3 separate regions of the Homo sapiens genome follow, and regions 2 and 3 are each linked to region 1. The links are contacts of gene promoters, found by promoter capture Hi-C in blood cells and fetal thymus (Javierre and others, 2016). All regions are on one chromosome and are shown on one strand. The core of a region is centred on a gene start or on the middle of the fragment in contact, and the rest is flanking DNA. Distances in the headings are between cores, read along the strand shown. Region 1 holds the start of ROCK1 (Rho associated coiled-coil containing protein kinase 1). Region 2 has its middle 180 kb from the start of ROCK1. Region 3 overlaps ROCK1 (Rho associated coiled-coil containing protein kinase 1).

Region 1 (3,563 bases), core at 516-3,015:
ATTATTTACAGATAACTGTATTATCAACCACTTAACTATTTTTAAAATGGGATTGTGGTTTTTCATGTCATAAAACCCTCTTTAGAATGTTTTACAAGTGACAATGTTAAGTGCCACACCACCAAAAAGACAGTTACAATAACTGTATGGTACGTACTTTTGTAACCAATAATACAATAAAATAAGTTAACACTGTAATTACCTATGACCAATTATCTTGGTTTTTTACAATAGTTTAGCAAAAAGTTCCTTCAAACTCAAATCACCTATGAAATTTTGGCTCAAAAATCACTTCCTCAATAGCAATTCTCCGTTATCATTTTCAAGGCTAAAAACTAAACCCCTAGGAGCTAAATCGCAAAAAGGAAAAAAAATGCAAAGTAGTCTTTCCAATTTAACTGTCAAACGGATCAGAAAGATTAACATTAATTACTACGATCGCCATTCAACAAACTGTATACATTGCAGTAACTCTGACGTGATAACTTTTTATAGGATGCCTGCAATAGCAGTTTGTAAGTATCTTTCGGGTACTCATGAACTGAGTCAGAATTAAAAGTTCAGAGTAGTTAGTACAGAGCCAGTCAAATGGCAAATAGGACCACACCATGAGATGTTAATGGTACTCCAAGATTCTTCAGGAAACAGAAATCTAGCATTTTCCAAGACGATTATGCACACCTGAGACTTTTGCAGCGAACCAGACTAATGCAAGAGGAAGGAAAGACATGCAAAACCCCAGACAAGCAAAAGAGAACAGCGCTACTCACCAGCAAACAATCCGAATTCACTTCCGATTTGGGATCCCGCAGCAGGTTGTCCATTTTTTCAAATCGAGTCTCAAAACTGTCCCCAGTCGACATGTTGCTGCTGCTGTGACAATGCCCTCTTACCAGCACCAGCAGCGGAAAGCAATTTCAACCAACTTCCTCCGCGGTGGGTTCGCAGCCGCGGGGCGGAGGAGCCGGAACCTCAGGGTCACCAGGTGCGCCCGGTTCCCCCGTCTTCCCCTCACTGAGGGGACCTCCGCTCTCCAGACCCCGGGCCGGGGGCAACAGCGACCCACAGCCGCTCGGACGCCCAAAGTCGCATCCCACCCGGCAGCCCCTCACGACAGCCGACAGCGCCGTCGCCACCAGCCTCGTCGCTCCGGCGAGGTGCTTCAGTCTAGCGGGCCCCGGCCGCCGTCGCCATGGAGGGGTCCCCGTCCCGAGATGGGCAGGAGCGGGTAGAGAAAGAGAAGCAGGGTGGAGACTCCCTCCGGGCAACAAGGGAGGGAGAAGAGGAAAGGCGAAAGCAAAGGGCGGGTGAGGAGCTGTGCCAGCTGCGGCCGCCGCTCGGGCCACGGGCCGGGCCCGCTCCGCTCAGAGGCGCTGTAGACGGTCTAGCCCCGCGTCCCCGGCTCTACTCGGCCCGGCCCGACGCACCGATCAGTCTCGGCCACGAGCTGGTCCACGCAGGACAGCCTCACTCTCCCATTTTGTCCCGTCGCTGCTGGGGCTGCTGCTACGGTGTCCGGTGGGGCAGGGCGAGGTCGATGCCCGATGGAGACTTAGCAGAGGAAAGGCTGGAGAGCGGGCGAAGAGGAAGACGATAGTTGGGTCCCGGCGGCTGCTGATGGGGGAGCTTCTGGGAGGGGCTGCGGTCCCAGCCGGGGAAAGGGCGAGTCGCGGCGGCGAATGCCTGGGGGGTGGGGCGAGGGGGGCTGAGAGGGACTAATATGTCCGCCTTCCTGTTCAAACAAACGGAGACCGCCGGGGCAGACTGCGCATGCGGGGCGCGGACGCTCGGAAGGGGAACCAGCCGGGACCCCGCGCGCGCGCGCGCACTCTGTCGCCTCCGCAGGGTGGGGTGGGGCGGGGCGGTGAGGTGGGCGGGGCCTTGCGGGCAGGCGGTGGAGAAGGCGGACCGCTGGGAGGAGCCGAGTGCGGGTAAGCAGCTGCCGGCAAGGTTCTCGCCTTGGCCGGCTCTGAGGAGCCATGCAGGGCTCTGGAGCGGCCTTGGAGGTCCGGACGGAGGCGGAGCTCTGGCTGCTTCTGATCGCTGTCCCGGCAGATGCCCCAGCTCTGTTTCCTCTGGGTTGCAGCCAGTCCAGAGACTTCTGACGAGGAGAGAGTGCTTGTTCTCCTTGTTGCTGTTAGGGTGGGGCAATAGGTTCTTTTTTAGGCAAGAAGCCTTTTCGTCGGCAGGTACCAGCATTGAGCACCAGTGGCGTTTGGTTTTCAGTGGTACTCCATGGACAGCCCTCCGCGAGCCCCGGCGTTGAACCCATTTACGATTCACTGGGAAAGTTCCGAAGCGCTGCAGCGCTCAGCCCTCCCACGCCAGGCGTGTGTGTCAGGGGAGCCATAAAATACTGACTCCGGAAGATACAGTCAATAGAAGTCAAGCTCAATTTAATTTTTTTAAAGGAAAATAATCTCGTAGAAAAAAATCAATATTTTTAAGTCGTTCGTGTTAGTTCTCATAACACCCCTACTGTAGTTCTCTCCTGGACGTGTAATGCTGCCGTTTCAATGTCAAAACATTCAGTGAAACTTAATTGTGATTTTTATCAGAACTAATGTAGGACATGAGAATAATGGGCATTTCTCCTAGTTCCGTTACTTCGTTGACTGTGGTGTGAGGAAAGGTGAAAGACTTGTCACTCACCCCCGCTGATAAAGTTATGTTCTTCACTGGTTTCAGCAGGAAATCTACCTTAATTTATTCCTCATCAAACTTTATTTTTGCTCAGAAGCCAAATTAAGGATCACTAGAAATAGAAAATGTGGATCTTTTACCCCATGATGGAAAATGCTACAGATGAACCAAAAAGCATCGGAGTAAAAAGCATCGTACAGCATCTGAACAGTCCACCAGCCTTACGATGTGAGTCAGAGGTTAGGAAAATCTTACACTGTTTGAAAAAATGTCTATTTCTATTTTCAATTTATTAAATACAAGAAATATTTAGATATAAAATCCACTATATATATCAAGATAGGACGTTCTTGGTTTATACAAAAATCATAACAAAGACAACTAGACAAACCAGGTATTTCATTAAATGCCTTTGCAGCGACTTTTCTTGGCTCCAGCATTTTAAGTCATGTGAATTAGACTTATTTTTAAGCATAGGGCTTAAAATAAATCAGGCAGTTGCCCTAAAATAAATTTCCTAAACCCTGCTTGTCTTTTTTTTATTATTATTACCATTTTTAGGTATTAGGAATTTTGTTGTTTCTCAGAGAACCGTGAACATTATGTTGCTTTCCATTTAGACACATACGAAAAAATACAAGTAGTTAAGACAATACATGAGTGACACTGATAAATATAAGTGGAAGTGATAACCAACCTGGCAGAACTACTAGAAATATATGTGGGGTCCATATATTTCTAGAAATATCTACTAGAAATATAGGTGGGGTCCATATATAGCTTACTTACCTACAAGGCTCTTCTGATTATTGTGACACATCACTAGTTATCTTCTGCCATAAGATAGATGGACTCTAAATCTAGTTATCTTCTGCCATAAGATAGATGGACTCTAAATTAACTTTTTTTTTTTTCTCCGA
Region 2 (3,563 bases), core at 625-3,124, 180 kb before region 1:
AAGCATTCTCAGAAACTTGTTTGTGTTGTGTGTACTCATCTGACAGAGTTGAACGTTTCTTTTTACACAGCAGTTTTGAAACACTCTTTTTGTAGAATCTGCAAGTGGATAATTGGATGACTTTAAGGATTTCGTTGGAAACGGGACTATATTCATGTAAAATCTACACAGAAGCATTCTCAGAATCTTCTTTGTGATGTGTGTCCTCAACTAACAGAGTTCAACCTTTCTTTTGATACAGCAGTTTGGAAACACTCTTTTTGTAGAATCTTCAAGTGGATATTTGGATAGCTCTAACGATTTCGTTGGAAACGGGAATGTCTTCATATAAAATCTGTACAGAAGCACTCTCAGGAGCTACTTTGTGATATCTGCATTCAGGTCACAGAGTTGAACATTCCCTTTCTTAGAGCACGTTTGAAACACACTTTTTGTAGTATCTGGAAGTGGACATTTGGAGCGCTTTCACGCCTTTGGTGAAAAAGGAAATGTCTTCCCATAAAAACTAGACAGAAGCATTCTAAGAAACTTCTTTGTGATATATGCACTCAACTAACCGAGTTGAACCTTTCTCTTTATAGATCAGTTTGAAATGCTCTTTTTGTGGAATCTGCAAGTGGATATTTGGATAGCTCTGAGGATTTCGTTGGAATCGGGATTACATATAAAATATAGACAGCAGCATTCTCAGAAGCTCCTTGTGATGTTTGCTTTTAAGTCACAGAGTTGAACATTCCCTTCCATAGAGCAGTTTTGAAACACTCTTTCTGTAGTATCTCTAAGTGGACATTTCGAGCGATGTCAGGCCTATGTTGAAAAAGGAAATAACTTCCCATAAAAAGTAGACAGAAGCATTCTCAGAAACTTATTTGTGATGGGTGTCCTCAACTAACAGAGTTGAACGTTTCTTTTGATACAACAGTTTAGAAACACTCTTTTTGTAGTATCTGCAAGCGGATATTTCGATAACTTTGAAGATTTCGTTGGAAACGGGAATATCTTCATATACAATCTAGACAGAGGCACTCTCAGAAACTGCTTTGTGATGTCTGCATTCAAGTCACAGAATTGAACATTCTCTTTCATCGAGCACGTTTGTAACACCGTTTCTGTAGTATCTGGATGTGGACATTTGAGCGCTTTGACGCGTACGGTGACATAGGAAATATCTTCCCTTAAAAACTAGACAGAAGCCTTCTCACAAACTGCTTTGTGATGTATGTCCTCCACTAACAGAGTTGAACCTTTCTATTTACAGGGCAGTTTTGAAAGACTCTTTTTGTAGAATCTGCAAGCGGATATTTGGATACCTTTAAGTAGATTTCATTGGAAACGGAAAAGTCATTCTCAGAAACTTCTTTGTGATATGTGTCCCCACCTAACAGAGTACAACCTGTCTTTGGATACAGCAGTTTGGAAACACTCTTTTTGCAGAATCTGCAAGTGGATATTTGGATAGCTCTGACGATTTCCTTGGAAACGGGAATATCTTCATATAAAATCTAGACAGAAGCACTCTCAGGAGGTACTTTGTGATATCTGCATTCAAGTCACAGAGTTGAACATTCCCTTTCATAGAGCTGGTTTGAAACACTCTTTTTGTTGTATCTGGAAATGGATCTTTGGAGCGCTTTGCCGACTTTGGAGAAAAAGGAAATATCTTCCCATAAAAACTAGACAGAAGCATTCTCAGAAACTTGTTTGTGATGTGTGTACTCAACTGACAGAGTTGAACGTTTCTTTTTACACAGCAGTTTTGAAACACTCTTTTTGTAAAATCTGCAAGTGGATAATTGGATGGCTTTAAGGATTTCCTTGGAAACGGGACTATATTCATGTAAAATCTACACAGAAGCATTCTCAGAAACTTCTTTGTGATGTGTGTCCTTAACTAACAGAGTTCAACCTTTCTTTTGATACAGCAGTTTCGAAACACTCCTTTTGTAGAATATGCAAGTGGATATTTGGATAGCTCTAACGATTTCATAGGAAATGGGAATACCTTCATATAAAATCTAGACAGAGGCACTCTCAGAAACTGCTTTGTGATATCTGCACTCAAGTCACAGAGTTGAACATTCCCTTTCTTAGAGCAGGTTTGAGACACTTTGTAGTATCTGGAAGTGGACATTTTTAGCGCTTTGACGCCTTTGGTGAAAAAGGAAATGTTTTCCCATAAAAACTAGACAGAAGCATTCTAAGAAACTTCTTTGGGATATATGTACTCAACTAACAGAGTTGAACCTTTCTATTTATAGGTCAGTTTTGAGAAGCTCTTGTTGTGGAATCTGCAAGTGGATATTAGGATAGCTCTGAGGATTTCCTTGGAAACGGGATTACATATAAAAAGTAGACAGCAGCATTCTCAGAACCTTCTTTGTGATGTTTGCTTTTAAGTCACAGAGTTGAATATTCCCTTACATAGAGCAGGTTTGAAACACTATTTCTGTAGTATCTGGACATGGACATTTCGAGCGATTTCAGGCCTATGTTGAAAACGGAAATATCTTCCCATAAATACTAGACAGAAGCATTCTCAGAAATTTCTTTGTGATGTGTGTCCTCAACTAACAGAGTTCATCCTTTCTTATGATACAGCAGTTTTGAAACACTCTTTTTGTAGAATATGTAAGTGGATAGTTGGATAGCTCTCATTATTTCATTGGAAACGGGAGTATCAACATAGAAAACCTAGACAGAAAAATTCTCAGAAACTGCTTTATGATGTCTGCATTCACGTCACAGAGTTGATCATTCCCTTTCATAGAGCAGGTTTGAAACACTATTTCTGTAGTATGTGGACATGGACATTTCGAGCGATTTCAGGCCTATGTTGAAAACGGAAATATCTTCCCATAAAAACTAGACAGAAGCATTCTCAGAAATTTCTTTGTGATGTGTGTCCTCAACTAACAGAGTTCATCCTTTCTTATGATACAGCAGTTTGGAAACACTCTTTTTGTAGAATATGTAAGTGGATAGTTGGATAGCTCTCACTATTTCGTTGGAAACGGGAGTATCAACATAGAAAACCTAGACAGAAACATTCTCAGAAACTGCTTTATGATGTCTGCATTCACGTCACAGAGTTGATCATTCCCTTTCATAGAGCAGGTTTGAAACCCTCTTTCCGTAGTATCTGGATGTGGACACTTGGAGCGCTTTGACGCTTACGGTGCAAAAGGAAATATCTTCCCATAAAAACTAGACAGAAGCATTCTCACAAACTGGATTGTGATGTTTGTCCTCAACTAACAGAGTTGAAACTTTCTATTTACAGAGCACTTTTGAAAGACTCTTTTTGGAGAATCTGCAAGTGGATATTTGGAGAGCTTTAAGGATTTCATTGGAAACGGGAATATCTTCATATAAAATCTAGACAGAGGCATTCTCAGAAACTTCTTTGTGATGTGTGTCCTCAACCAACGGAGTACATCCTGTCTTTTGATACAGCAGTTTGGAAACACTCTTTTTGTAGAATCTGCAAGTGGATATTTGGATAGCTCTAACGATTTCGTTGGAAACGGGAATATCTTCATAAAAAATCTAGACAGAAGCACTCT
Region 3 (3,563 bases), core at 614-3,113, 140 kb before region 1:
ACAACTTTTAAAAAATAGTGAGATGTGTAGTAGCAGCTTTGACTCTCACTGTGGACTTAGGCTGCTCAAAATAGGTTCATAAACCTCTTATGGTTTTTATTCAGGTAAAGCTTCTTAGGTCTATTTAAATAGCCTAAGATTGCTTACAACTGCTCTACTCCACAAAATACACCAAGTGTATAATCATCATCAGGCCTTGGCTATCAGAAATAAGAATTCCTTCTTAGGAATCCATGGACAAAATGACAAGGAGGTAGAAAACCAAATGAAAGAAATATACACTAATTTCCATGACATTTATACATGTTTGAATGATACAGAATTATTCTTACCTGGGAGGTTACCATCAGTTTCATCAGCACTAGGAAAACTAGCAACACTTGTAGAATCCGAGAGGTCCAAAAGTTTAGCACGCAATTGCTCAATATCACTCTCTTTGCTGGCCAACTGCATCTGAAGCTCATTCCTATGTGCACATTCTTCTACCAATTGCTAATTTTGAAAAGTATCAAGATAATATAATCAAGCTAAAACAATTTCCAACATTACTAATTGAAATATGATAATTTAAATTGCTAATACTAAAAATGTACAGTAAACTTCATGAATGTTTGCTACCACAGATTTTGATACACTACAGAAATGTCAAGTTCTTTCTCAGTAATACAATGCTCGGACAAATTCCTTTTCTCCTTGCCTTAAAAAGAGTTTTTGTTTTTGTTTTCAAACATAAGCCATCAAAACAAAAAAGTTACAACAAAAGAAAATGCTTTTCTGGCTCCAAATGAAGTAGCTTTAAAGGTATAGAAAACTTCAGAAAACCATAACTGATGGAGCTAAAAAGCTTAGATCTAAGTGCCCGAGACCAGGTTCTCAATTTTGTTCTATTAACAAGCCAAGGGGTATCAAAAAATTAAGCTTGTTATTTTGATTTCAAAAAAGTGAGTCTTGACTAGAGAAAATAAATAAGCTACAATACTTCAAAACCTCTACCCCAATTATAGTTAATATTATAACAGCCATATCCCAATTTCAGTCTGAAACCAAACAGGCAGAACCCTTGATTGTTCCCAATCTAAACAAGATAAATAGATAACAAGTATATACAGAAATAATTTAAGAAAATAATCCTTCACACTCATATCCATACACACACAGAAACCTTACCGCTTGCATGTCATTCAGTTCCTTCTGATGTTTCACTACCATCTGGTTGAATTTCTCTCTTTCTTGGTTGAGTTCCAGTTGCAGCTTTCGATTTTCCTTTTCTTTCTTTCTCAAATCTTGTGTATTAGCTTTCTTTCTATCAATTTTAAAATCTTTTCGATTCATTATTTCTGCCAATTTGTTAACAGCCTATTAAAATATTATTAATAAAGATCAATAGTGTAGTCATCCAATTTAATACTAAAATGTATTTTTTTCTTCAAAATCAGGAAGCAGGACTTTCTGTGTGTATGAAAATTAGGACAACTTCATGATGGTTGAGACATGATAACTGGTAGCACAAGTAACTAACACTGACTTATCACACTACTTAAATGTAAGAACCAGGAGCCTTTCTTTGGTTAACTTTACAACCCAGTACTGAATCAAGAGTATGCTAATCCTACTCTGATGTTGGGTACTAGCAAATAAAGCTTCTATGCCTTGGCCACATACTCTTATCTTCTACAACTATACAATATTACTAGGCAAGTTAGCTTTCTTAACTGAAATCCTATTTCTTTTTTTTTTTTTGAGACTGGGTCTTGCTCTGTCGCCCAGGCTGGCATGCAGTGGCATGATCTTTGCTCACTGCAACCTCTGCCTCCTGGGTTCAAGCAATTCTCGTGCCTCAGCCACCTGACTAGCTGGTATTACTGGAGCGCACCACCACGCCCGGCTAATTTTTGTATTTTTAGTAGAGACTGGGGTTTCGATGTCAGCCAGGCTGCTCTCGAACTCCTGGCCTTAAGTGTTCTGCTGGCCTCAGCCTCCTAAAGTGTTGGGATTACAGGCATGAGCCACCGCGCCTGGCCTTGAAATTCTATTTCACAAATAAGTTTTTTATAGTTAGCGGGGAGAGAATTTATTTGTTCTGATGAAAAGCTTGAACCTTATAAGCCTTGGTTTTAGGAAAAAGTGCATAAAGAGCAATGATTAACTCAAAAATGAACATGTGGAAAAGATCGAAAGCATGTATACCTGTGTTTTAAGGGTTCGTTCAGTGTTGATATTCTTTTCAAAGGCAGCCTTAAGATTACTGATCTCCTCCTCCTTCTCCAGTTTATATTCTGTCAACAAATTATATTAAATGTTATTGTATGGTATTAATTTAATTTCTGCATTTCAAACTAACAATGTCTTTAATTATTCAAATAAGTATACATTACATAGTAACTTTCAGTAACTTCATTAAGATAATTCTTAAGGCTACAGAAGTTACTTAATATATGAAAACAGGTATCTTAGAAACCTAACACAACATAGGTAAAGATAAATCACTGAATTTGATTTAACATGATGATTTTTTAAAAATTCTACATACCTTCCTCTGCCTTCTTCATTTTCTCTGTTAGCTCTTCATTCTCTCTTCTTAATATTTCAATATCTTTGGTTAGCATGCTGTTTGCTTCTTCAAGCTAAACAAAGCACACAAAAGTTTAAGCTCCAGCCTCTTTGCTATTCTCGTATTTCAGGCAGTAACCTTTAAATATACTGCTAGATAAAGACAGGTCAGACACTGCTGAACTACAGCAAATGTCTGGTTTCCAGCTTAAAATATGTAATTACATCAAAAATATTTAAAAGTAGTTAACAGCATCCAAAAATTATTTCATTGTATGCATATAGATATATGTATGAACAAAAGGGGGGCATATGTAATGGCAAGATAACTAGATTGCAAACTAAGAAATTTGTATTTAGTTCTAGCTCTGCGATTAACCTAGTATGTGACCCCGAGCAAGTCATACTTTTTCTGGACTTCAATATCTTTATCTGAATATTGATGATGAAAACGATAATAAAAACATTTATTTATAGATTACTTTTAGTAATATATAATCATTACTTGTTATATGTTATATTAATCATTCTATGTCTACTGTCTTATTTAATCCTCATAACAATCATGTGGAAGAGATATTACTATTTCTATTTTATAGATGAGAAATCTGAGGCTTAGAGAAGTTAAAGCCAACTTTGCCAAGACCATATAACTTCTTAGGGGCAAAACTGGAACCCAGAGTGACTGATAGTGGCTTTACAAGAAAAATCTAACTCCTCTTTTTAGTCGCATGATTCTATATAGATTACAGTATAAACCTCAGGAATAGGTAATTGTTTGGAGTATTGGTTTTCTTATAATGGATTTATATATTATCCCAAGAATTCCTCATTCCCAAATGGTTTCTCTATATTTCACAGAATTCTGGCCCATAAAATCAGTTGCAATGTATTAAGAGAACAACAAATGAATTTAAGCTAAGCCATTACTTCATATGAAATATAACTAATAAGATCTACAGCCAGAAAAACAGCCCAATATTGCATTGGTTCTGTGCCTATACAAACAAAAG

The links. The method cuts DNA at HindIII sites, captures the fragments that hold promoters and counts their contacts. A CHiCAGO score of 5 or more calls a contact.
Region 2: a fragment that was not itself captured here is called in contact with the fragment with the promoter of ROCK1 in region 1 in 3 of 17 cell types (naive B cells, total B cells and naive CD4 T cells); the score reaches 5.4 in naive B cells.
Region 3: a fragment that was not itself captured here is called in contact with the fragment with the promoter of ROCK1 in region 1 in 4 of 17 cell types (total B cells, naive B cells, naive CD4 T cells and 1 more); the score reaches 6.5 in total B cells.

The regions. Positions count from the first base shown.
Region 1 is chr18:21,110,048-21,113,610 of GRCh38, forward strand. ROCK1 (Rho associated coiled-coil containing protein kinase 1) reads right to left here and starts at 1,766. Exons shown (of 33, transcript NM_005406.3): 1 at 771-1,766. The coding sequence starts at 863. RefSeq lists enhancers at 1,419-2,007, 1,661-1,955, 2,055-2,274, 2,305-2,364 and a silencer at 1,625-2,014. The HindIII fragment of the contact is 6,843 bases long and covers 1-3,563 here.
Region 2 is chr18:20,932,688-20,936,250 of GRCh38, forward strand. No RefSeq gene overlaps it. Among named protein-coding and RNA genes, the nearest start is that of ROCK1, 180 kb to the right of the region's middle. RefSeq lists enhancers at 427-1,034, 1,035-1,640, 1,641-2,248, 2,249-2,854, 2,855-3,462 and 2 more. The HindIII fragment of the contact is 5,772 bases long and covers 1-3,563 here.
Region 3 is chr18:20,966,585-20,970,147 of GRCh38, forward strand. It overlaps ROCK1 (Rho associated coiled-coil containing protein kinase 1), which reads right to left. Exons shown (of 33, transcript NM_005406.3): 24 at 2,531-2,624; 25 at 2,188-2,276; 26 at 1,168-1,356; 27 at 333-492. Among named protein-coding and RNA genes, the nearest start is that of ROCK1, 140 kb to the right of the region's middle. The HindIII fragment of the contact is 451 bases long and covers 1,639-2,089 here.